Regions from separate parts of the Homo sapiens genome. Here region 1 is linked to region 2. The links are contacts of gene promoters, found by promoter capture Hi-C in blood cells and fetal thymus (Javierre and others, 2016). All regions are on one chromosome and are shown on one strand. Each heading gives the region's core, a stretch centred on a gene start or on the middle of the fragment in contact. The rest is flanking DNA. Distances are from core to core; before and after follow the strand shown.

Region 1 (4,529 bases), core at 643-3,142, 180 kb after region 2:
ATGAAAGCAGTGTCAACACACACAATTTCATTAGATCTTTAGAAGTACCAAATGGAGTGCTTGCTACCTTTATTTGCAAATAAGGAAACCAGGCAGAGAAACGTCAGGCACTGATACTTTATTATAATACCCAGACCTCCTAATCTCAGGTCATGTAACGTTTCTTAAGCTCATATCCTGCACCCCAAAATCAGAAGCAAGTTTAGCAACTGATCACTATTGTGAATAAAAGCCACTGAAGTCACTAGTATGAATAAGGGCCCCAAAAGGAAAAAAACATAAGCGTTAACAGTTTGCAACTGAAATTTACATAGGCCTTAAGAGTTCATGAAAAGCTTGTTTCATTATTTATTTGATCCTCAAAACTATCCTGTTAACCACTACCTTTAATTTTTATAACTGTGTTATAACTAATCCTTTGAAACCACACAGCTAATTACATAGCCATGCTCTATTTTGAACTCATCTTCTGACAAGATCATGGTACTTCGTTCACTCCAAAAAAAGGTGTATTAGCAACCAAACAAATGCCCTCAGGCTCTCTACGATTGGTCTGTCTTATTAAGGGTATCAGAATTACCTTGAGGGCTTACTAAAATGGGCTGCTGAGCCTCACCCAACTTTCTGACCTAGTAAGTCTCCAGTGAGGCCCGAGTACCTGCAATTAAAAAAAAAAAAAAAAAAAAAAAAAAAACTCAGGTGATGCTAATGCTGCTGGTATGAGACTACCTTGAAAACCACTGATCTCACAGGTCTGGGATAAGATACCTGCAAATCACCCTTTCCAATGGGAGGTAATAAAGCTTGAACATTAACTTTAATAAAGCTTATCGTATGACATATGATATCCAGCTCAAATATTTGTCAAAAGGATAGGTGACATACTAACTACATGGAAAAAGAATTTTTCTTTTTTAACCATTATCAAGAATGTAGAATGTCTGACAATCATAGATTAAGGTTTTTCCCTCCTGGATATACAGATAAGAAGTGTGACTCACTTTGTAAAAATTCATTTCTCAGGCCAAGCGCAGTGGCTCACGCCTGTAATCCCAGCACTTTGGGAGGCTGAGGCTGGCAGAACACTTGAGGTCAGGAGTTCGAGACCAGCCTGGCCAACAAGGCAAAACCCCATCTCCACTAAAATTACAAAACAATTAGCCAGGCATGGTGGTGCACACCTGTAGTCCCAGCTACTGAGGAGGCTGAGGCAGGAGAATTGCTTGAACGCAGGAAGCAGAGGTTGCAGTGAGCTGAGATCATGCCACTGCACTCCAGCCTGGGTGACAGAGTTGAGACTCTGTCTCAAGAAAAAAAAAAAAGGAAAAAGAAAAAAATTCATTTCTCAAAGAAAAATTCTCCAACACCTCCAATATTGACTAAGCAGAGAACAGAGAGAGTCAAAAGTAGCCTGATCACAGTGCATTTAGAGGGGAAATGCTTGAATTACAATCGTAATAGAACTGGCACAGATGGAGAAAAGTCATTCAAGTCAGAGCAAATGACAAATGTATGGTACAGAAACAAAAATGAATAAGCCAGTCACCCTGATTAGAGCAGACATACCATTTACAGTAACTAAAAACAAAGTATCATTTCAGAAGGCCATACATTACTGAAAGATCAGTTATAGATTAATGAAAGTCAGGATTACTATTTTTACCTACTTTCTCTAGTTTTACGTAATTTTTAAAGGCTTCTGTTATACTCCTGACTCAATTTGAGCGTACTGAATAGTTACTGACACTCTGGAAGTATTTAGGGGAAATTACACACACAACAAAACACTCAACGTGAACTTAGGCAGGGGAAGATTTAGTTTGCTTGCCATGTGGGAATCCACTGCTATCATTCACTACACATTCACCTGTATTATGATCAGAACCTAAATTAAATTAGTGGTTGTGGAAAAGAAAAAATTGAAGAGATGCAACAGGATTCAACCAGGGATTAGGAGAGATGGAGGTCCTGGTGATGCTGAATCCCTGGTTCCATATATTCCTTGTACCCAACTACACTTTCATATACCTTCTAATAGTTTATTTTTACACAACGTTATTTTTAGATGGGCTTTATCACATGGAAAAAAAATACCCTTACTTATTCAATCAAGAAAATGCTTACTTATGCTGGGTGCAGTGGCTCACACCTGTAATCCCAGTACTTTGGGAGACTGAGGGGGACAGATCACTTGAGATCAGGAGTTCAAGACCGGCCTGGCCAACATGGTGGAACCCCAACTCTACTAAAAATACAAAAGTTAGCCAGGCATGGTGGTGTGGGCATGTAATCCCAGCTACTCAGGAGGCTGAGGCAGGAGAACTGCTTGAACCCAGGAGGCAGGGGCTGCAGTGAGCTGAGATTGTGTCACTGCACTCCAGCCTGGGCAACAGAGTGAGACCCTGTCTCAAGAATATTAAAAAAAAAAAAAAAAGGAAAAGAAAATGCTTACTTACTAGTATTAAACTTGTAACTCAAGCTGTCACCCAATATCAAGTGAGTAATATCAGCTTAGTAAGCAACAAAGAAAAAATCATCACCACCAAAAATACAAGTTGAAGCACGACAGTATAAAAAGTCTCTTATTTAATCTAAGGTAAAAGTGAAAATCTTGCAGCAAACTCCGGGCTACAACTATAATAAAAATCAGAATCAATTTTGCTGAGGAATCCTGTTTCAAATTGCAATAGCATGTATTTGTGTTCCTGCTTTGTGCTAACTGAAGTAAAGATTTAGCAAGCATAAACAAGCATCATGTAAGGATTATTTATTATTTCCCCTCCAAGCCTCTCCTACTCTCTACTTCTGTACTTGTCTTCTCACATGAAATGTTCTTTCTTCCATTCCAAGCACTTATTTTTCTTGAAAGTTCACCTCCTTGACCATAGTAGCTGACATAATTGGAATAACTGTATTCCCTGGCCGTAGATTTGGAGTGGACACATGACCCAAGCTTGTCCATACTTTGTTTCTGGAGTTTTATCAACAGCAACTTAAGAAAGAAGCATAGACTATCTCAAGTAGTAAATGTGGGAGACCTACAAACTGACAGCATAATATGAAGAAAGTTGGTCTGAAAAGACAAGTCAGGTGGGACACGGCTCACGCCTGTAATCTTAGCACTTTGGGAGGCCAAGGTAGGCAGATCACTTGAGCTCAGGAGTTCGAGACCAGCCTGGGCAACATGGCGAAACACCGTCCATGTAAAAAATACAAAAAGAATTAGCTGGGTGTGGCAGCGCATGCCCGTAGTCCCAGCTACTAGGGGGGCTGAGGCAGGAGGATGGCTTCATCCAGGGAGGCTGAGGCTGCAGTGAGCCAAGATCGCACTGCTGCACTCCAGCCTGAGTGACAAAGTGAGACCCTGTCTCAAAAACAAAAAGAGGTAAACCATGTAGAAAAGCAGAAATAGAGAAAATAAATTCTGGTGGCACTTGAGTCCCTGGGAGCAGATATATCCCTCCTTTAATGAAATTCCATGAGACTTACATGAAATTCTTCATTTTGTCTAACCTAGTTTGAGGTTAGACTGTCTGTAATCTAGTTACAGACAGATTTCTGTCTCTGCACCCCCAAATTCTGATGCTATAAACAGTAATGATATCGTGTAACGCAAATATTCCGTTATTTCCCTCTGAAAAAAGATTTAAGGATGAATAAAACTTGGCCAAAAGTAGTATACTATTGTACCAGGGCCTGTCAGTCACCTGTTCCAGAGAATTTCTAATTAGTTTATATTACCAAAGTCTGCATTCTACCAGTTACTCAAGGGCTTACTTCAACTTAAATTGAAACATCACAATAAAGTGGCACAGTGTTTTATTCCCATTCACGTAAGTGTTAAAAGAGTATAAAAAGGCGAGAACAGAGTGAAAGAAAAAATTATGTGGCAAGTTGTACATTTTCAGTTATAGGTCAGAGACTTTTTTGAGAATCTTATGAATGACATTAACTAAGATTTATTTTGTGTTTATTATGTGCCAAATATTATGTTAAGCGCTTTAGATATATTATTCTTGTAATAACATCTGAAGTTTAACAATGTTAAGTAACCTATCCTAAGTCCCACACTGAAATAAGTAGTAGAACTGGATTACGAACCCAGGCAGTCTAACTCACTGCTTTACACTGCCCTTCTGTACATATGCATATATACTGCCTTCTTCAAAATCTAACGTCAGGTTAAGTATACAGCATCCTGTTACAATGTGAAATAAGAGGGCTGATAAACTGTGAGAAATAAGGAAAGTGGGCATAGTACATGATGAATAAAAATACAGGAATGTAGCCAGGCACGGTGGCATGCACTTGCAGTCCTAGCTACTCAAGAGGCTGAGGCGAGAGAAAGGCATGAACGCAGGAAGTTAAGGATGCTTGAGCTATGACTGCACCACTGCACTCCAGCCAGAGCGACAGAACGAGACCCTGTCTCTAAAAAATTAACTTAAAAAAAAAAAACAGGAATACACACTATATTTGCAGACTGTATTTTAAGAAATGAGTTGTCTTACACTGTAACAAAAGGAAGG
Region 2 (4,665 bases), core at 1,098-3,597:
ACTCTGCCCTGTGAACTTCTTTCCTTGGCTAGTTGTAATCTGTAACCTTTCCCTGTAATAAACTATAACCCTAAATACAATAGCTTTCAGTAAGGTCTGTGAGTCTTTCTAGCAAATTATCGAACCTGAGGGTTCTATTCAGGGTTTTGACGGCCCCCTGAACTTGGTGTCAGAAGTAAGGGCAGTTTTGGGGAATGTGCTTTCTAACTTTGTAGTTGGCCTACTTCAAAGGAAGCAGGAAAAAGTCTGCAGATTTTATTTTCTTTGTTTTCTTATAGTATACAGTTTATATTTTAAGAAATCTGTATACTTTTAAAATAAAACATTCATTAGGCTCCTTTACCCAGTATTTATCTATAATAGGTTCATGAACTCATTCAGTAAATACTGAATTTAACTGAGAGCAATTAAAGTAGTTAGGAAAAAATCCACTTGAATTCTTTTTTGTGTACATTTACCAAACATTTGTTATTAAAGAGAAAATACTTTGTACTTTGTGTTATATTAATAATTGTATTACTAATTATAAGATGCTGGGCAAATCACATAGTTTCTTTGAATTTCAGTCAGGTCTTTTCTAAAATCAAAGATAATACCCTTTCCATAGATACGAATTAAGGTTTAAGAATGAAAAGTAAAGGATGAAATTAGAACTATTTTAAAGTTGTAGCCTAGTACCTGACATGCAGAACGTGTTCCATAAATATTAACTGAGATAATGATAATATTCTAAGAATTTCATAAGATTCATGCTTTACAAATTTTATTGACTGAAGATTAATGAGTAGCTAACGTTTCTGAACTGAATTCTTAAGAAGCTAATTTTCACCTCTGTACAAATTTTTGAGCTGAAGGTATTACAACAATCTTAGACAAATCACCACTATCAACTAGATTCCAGTTATCAATTCCATACAAACCATTGTTCCTGAATGTATATGGCTTAAAAAATATAATAGAATCAAGCTACCTTGGCCAGTCGCAGTGGCTACTCACATCTGTAATCCCAGCACTTTGGGAGAACAAGGCAAGAGGATCACTTGAGACCAGAAGTTCAAGACTAGCCTGGGCAACATAGTGAGACCCCTGTCCTTACAAAAAAATAAAAATAAAAAAATTAGCCTGGCATAGTGGCATGCACCTGTAGTCCTAGCTACTAGGGAGGCTGAGGTGGGAGAACCACTTGAGCACAGGCGATTGAGGCTGCAGTGGGCTATGATCACACCACTGTGCTCCAGTCTGGGCAACAGAAAAGAATCAAACTACCTTCTACTTTTAATGATTGTATTTTTGTTTTTTAAATATTTGAAATAAATTGATTCCAGTGTTTTCATGCATTGACTATTAATATCAATTTCTAGCCAAATTTGGATTGCTACATAACTATACTTTTTTTTTTTTTTTTTTTTTGCAGTTTTGCCATTGCCACTAGCACAGACTTGTGATGATTAATTCTGGTGCTTTTTTTCCTTTTCTTCTCACAGATGTTGAAGTGCTGTTTTTTAAAGCTTTTCCCCCTATTTTGATGCATCAGATAAGGTACATTCTTGGAATGATGAACAACCCCTGACTTAAAATGTAACCAATATTGTGAAATTCCCCATCATTTTAAATTAAATACAAGCTGTTTTCAAGTCAGTCATTTTTAGATTATGGCTCTAAAAATAAATGATTCCCATGGCCTTAGTGCATTTTCTGCTCACACAAGTGAGCAATAAGGACAAATGGTTCCTTAGGATACAGTAAATACAGCAGAATGTATGTCAGTGTATCTCCATTATGTCTCATAAAAATGCTAAGTGGTATGTGTGTGTGCAGCCAAGTCTGCTACACAACTTGCGTAATACAGTGGTGATTTTACTAACCACACGGGAGGTTTCTTGGCCTTGGAAATAAGAATGGTTTTTTGTTGTTGCTGTTTTTAATATCATAAGCCATGAAAGCAATCTTCCATCAAATATTCAAATATAAACTGTTGACTTCCATTCAGACCTGCAAGCTGTATGGTGGACTTTGTAAGCTTCTTTTTGAAATTCGATGTTTCCAGGAAAGCACAAAAGGAGAAAGGAGGTACAATAAGGGGAAACAAAGTCACTGTTCCCCAGTTCTTTTTACTTGATCTTCTTCTTTTACTTGACTCTCCTTCCACTCCTTCAGCATAATCGGTTTTAATATCCGTAAGCATCTGGGGAGTCACCTGGGCTTTTAGTGACAAAAGTCTGTGGGCGAAGCCCCTCTGAGAAGAGAACTCTGCTCTCTAGGCCTTTCAGAGGTAGGCAGAGCTCGGCAACCGGTTTCTACGGACCGAGGACGCGTTGCTAAGGGACTGAAGGGTGGGGGCGGGGCGAGTAACCCGCGGAGCCAGAAGAGGGAGGAAAGGAGATGAGGTTTGTTTCAGGGTGCGGAAGGGTTGGAAGAGTTGAAAATCAAAATTTGCATGAGGGTGGGAGGCGAAATAGGAAAAACGTCGTTTTACATAAACGGCCTTTCTGTCCCCGGAGTCGGTGGGACGTTCTCCAGCGGGGCCTGGACCGGGAGAGTGTGGTTGAGGTCAGGCAAGTGTGGGACCGCGGCGAGAGGCGAGCCCGGGGGGCTCTTCCAGGTTCGCGGAAGAACCCTTTGCATCTTCTAAACTAAATATTAATGAGCTTCCTCAATGTTGCCCTTAATTTTGCTTTCCCATGAAACGACCATAGGCATAGAGCGTTTGAGTCGGGCTTCCTATGTTTCCAGCGAGATGGAGGCACCTGGGGGAAGGTGACTCGGGGCCGGGCAAGAGATGCGAGAGGCTCTGGGGGCCGCTTAATTGATACATTTCCAAATTGACGACTCCCAACATCCTGGAATGGATGGTGGAAGCTGATCGCCCCTGCGGTAATTGTGCTGCGATTTCGAGCTGGCTAATCAATTCTTGCAATCATTATCTGATTAGTCGCCCACAATAATACTCCACAATCCACGTACATCATAGTTTTAAAATTCCTTAGTAGTTTTTCTTAGAAACTTCCCTTCCAGGCCGGCGCGTTGGCTTACGCCTGTAATCCCAGCACTTTGGGAGGCCAAGGCGGGCGGATCACTTGAGGTCAGGAGTTAGAGACCAGCCTGGCCACAGTGGCGAAACCCCGTCTCTACTAAAAATACAAAAATTAGCCGGGCATGGTGGTGGGCGCCTGTAGTCCCACCTACTGGGGAGGCTGAGGCAGGAGAATCGCTTGAACCTGGGAGGCGGAGGTTGTAGTGAGCTGAGATCGCAGCCACTGCACTCCAGCCTGGGTGACAGAATCAGTGAGACCGTCTCAAAAATAAAAATAAATAAATAAGGGACAAGAAAATGCATAATGCGGAACTAAGCACATAGGTCGGGTTTTTAAATTAGTTCTCAGTGCCTGGGCTGTACTAGCTTGCTGGGACTGTCATGACAAAACATCATAGACAGAGTGGCTAAACAACAGAAATTTGTTTTCTTACAGTTCTAGACACTAAAAGTTGGAAATGGAGAGGTGGGCAGGGTTGTTTTCTTCAGAGGCCTCGCTCCTTGGCTTGGGGTGGTGGCTGCCTTCTCACTGAATCTTCACAACGACTTTCCTCTGTGTATCCTCGGTGTCCCAATCTCCTCTTCTTATATGACACCAGTCATACTGGCCAGAGGCCTACCCTAACAACCCCATTTTAACTTTACTCTTTAAATGCTGTATGTCCAAATACAATCACAGTCTGAGATCCTGGGGCCTAGGACTTCAACATACGAATTTAGGGGCAACATAATTCAGCCTATAATATGGGCCATTTATCAACATTTTAGATTTAAAGAAAAAAGATTCCCCTAAGTCTATCCTTGGAATGTGAGATGGAGATAACTCAGCCAGTTATCTAATTATTGAGTAAACATTAATCATTTAACAGATGAAGTGAGTCCCTACTGTGGTCTCAGTAGTGGACTGTGTCAGATAAGAGTGTAAGAAGTGGCCTCGTCCTCAAGGAGTAAGCATTTGAACTGATAAAGCCACATAATGGAAGTGAATTTTAATTTAAGCCTGCATTTTCTAGATAATTTCTCAGGCCTTTAGTTTGTAACTTTAGAGATTCTTAGTTTTCCTGAGTTGTTTAGAACTTGCTGAAGAACTCTTCTCAGCTGAGCCTATTATATTGACGACACTGGGTTTTGTTATTTTTTGTTTGTTTGTTTTTAGTCCCAAAGGTGCTGTTAAAATAAAATTGTTCTCTTAAAATATTTAAGACATTTTTATTTTAGATATGACTTAGTCTCTGATATGCTAATAATATTGACCTACAATTTTTGTTGAGAGCAAGTTTTTGCAGTGAGGCCTGTAGATGATTCACTGTGAGAGTAATTGGGAATTCATTCTGCCCCAATTGGCATGGCCTCTATTTCATTGTGTTCTTTAAAAACAAACGAACAAACAACAACAAAAAACTGTCACTACTGTGCTAGAAATTAAGAACATAAATCCAAGTTTCCTTTCAAAACAATTTTACCAAGTTTAGATTGGCAATAACCCCATTTTATAATAATACACTCAACTTTTTATTTCATCTTCCAGTAAATCATTATGAAGTAACATCATTTATTACAGATAAACTAGGATTACTCTTCCTAAAAATTTATATTCAGAGACATCTCCAAATTAAATTGTAATTTTCAAA

What was found. Contacts are between HindIII fragments. The CHiCAGO score rates a contact against its expected background, and 5 or more counts as called.
Region 1: a fragment that was not itself captured here is called in contact with the fragment with the promoter of C1orf141 in region 2 in 1 of 17 cell types (naive CD4 T cells); the score reaches 5.6 in naive CD4 T cells.

Annotation. Positions count from the first base shown.
Region 1 is chr1:66,951,502-66,956,030 of GRCh38, reverse strand. The region is part of intron 4 of MIER1 (MIER1 transcriptional regulator); the gene reads right to left. Among named protein-coding and RNA genes, the nearest start is that of MIER1, 29 kb to the right of the region's middle. The HindIII fragment of the contact is 2,127 bases long and covers 829-2,955 here.
Region 2 is chr1:67,132,652-67,137,316 of GRCh38, reverse strand. It overlaps C1orf141 (chromosome 1 open reading frame 141), which reads left to right and starts at 2,347. Exons shown (of 8, transcript NM_001276351.2): 1 at 2,347-2,387. RefSeq lists an enhancer at 1-114. The HindIII fragment of the contact is 7,094 bases long and covers 2,023-4,665 here.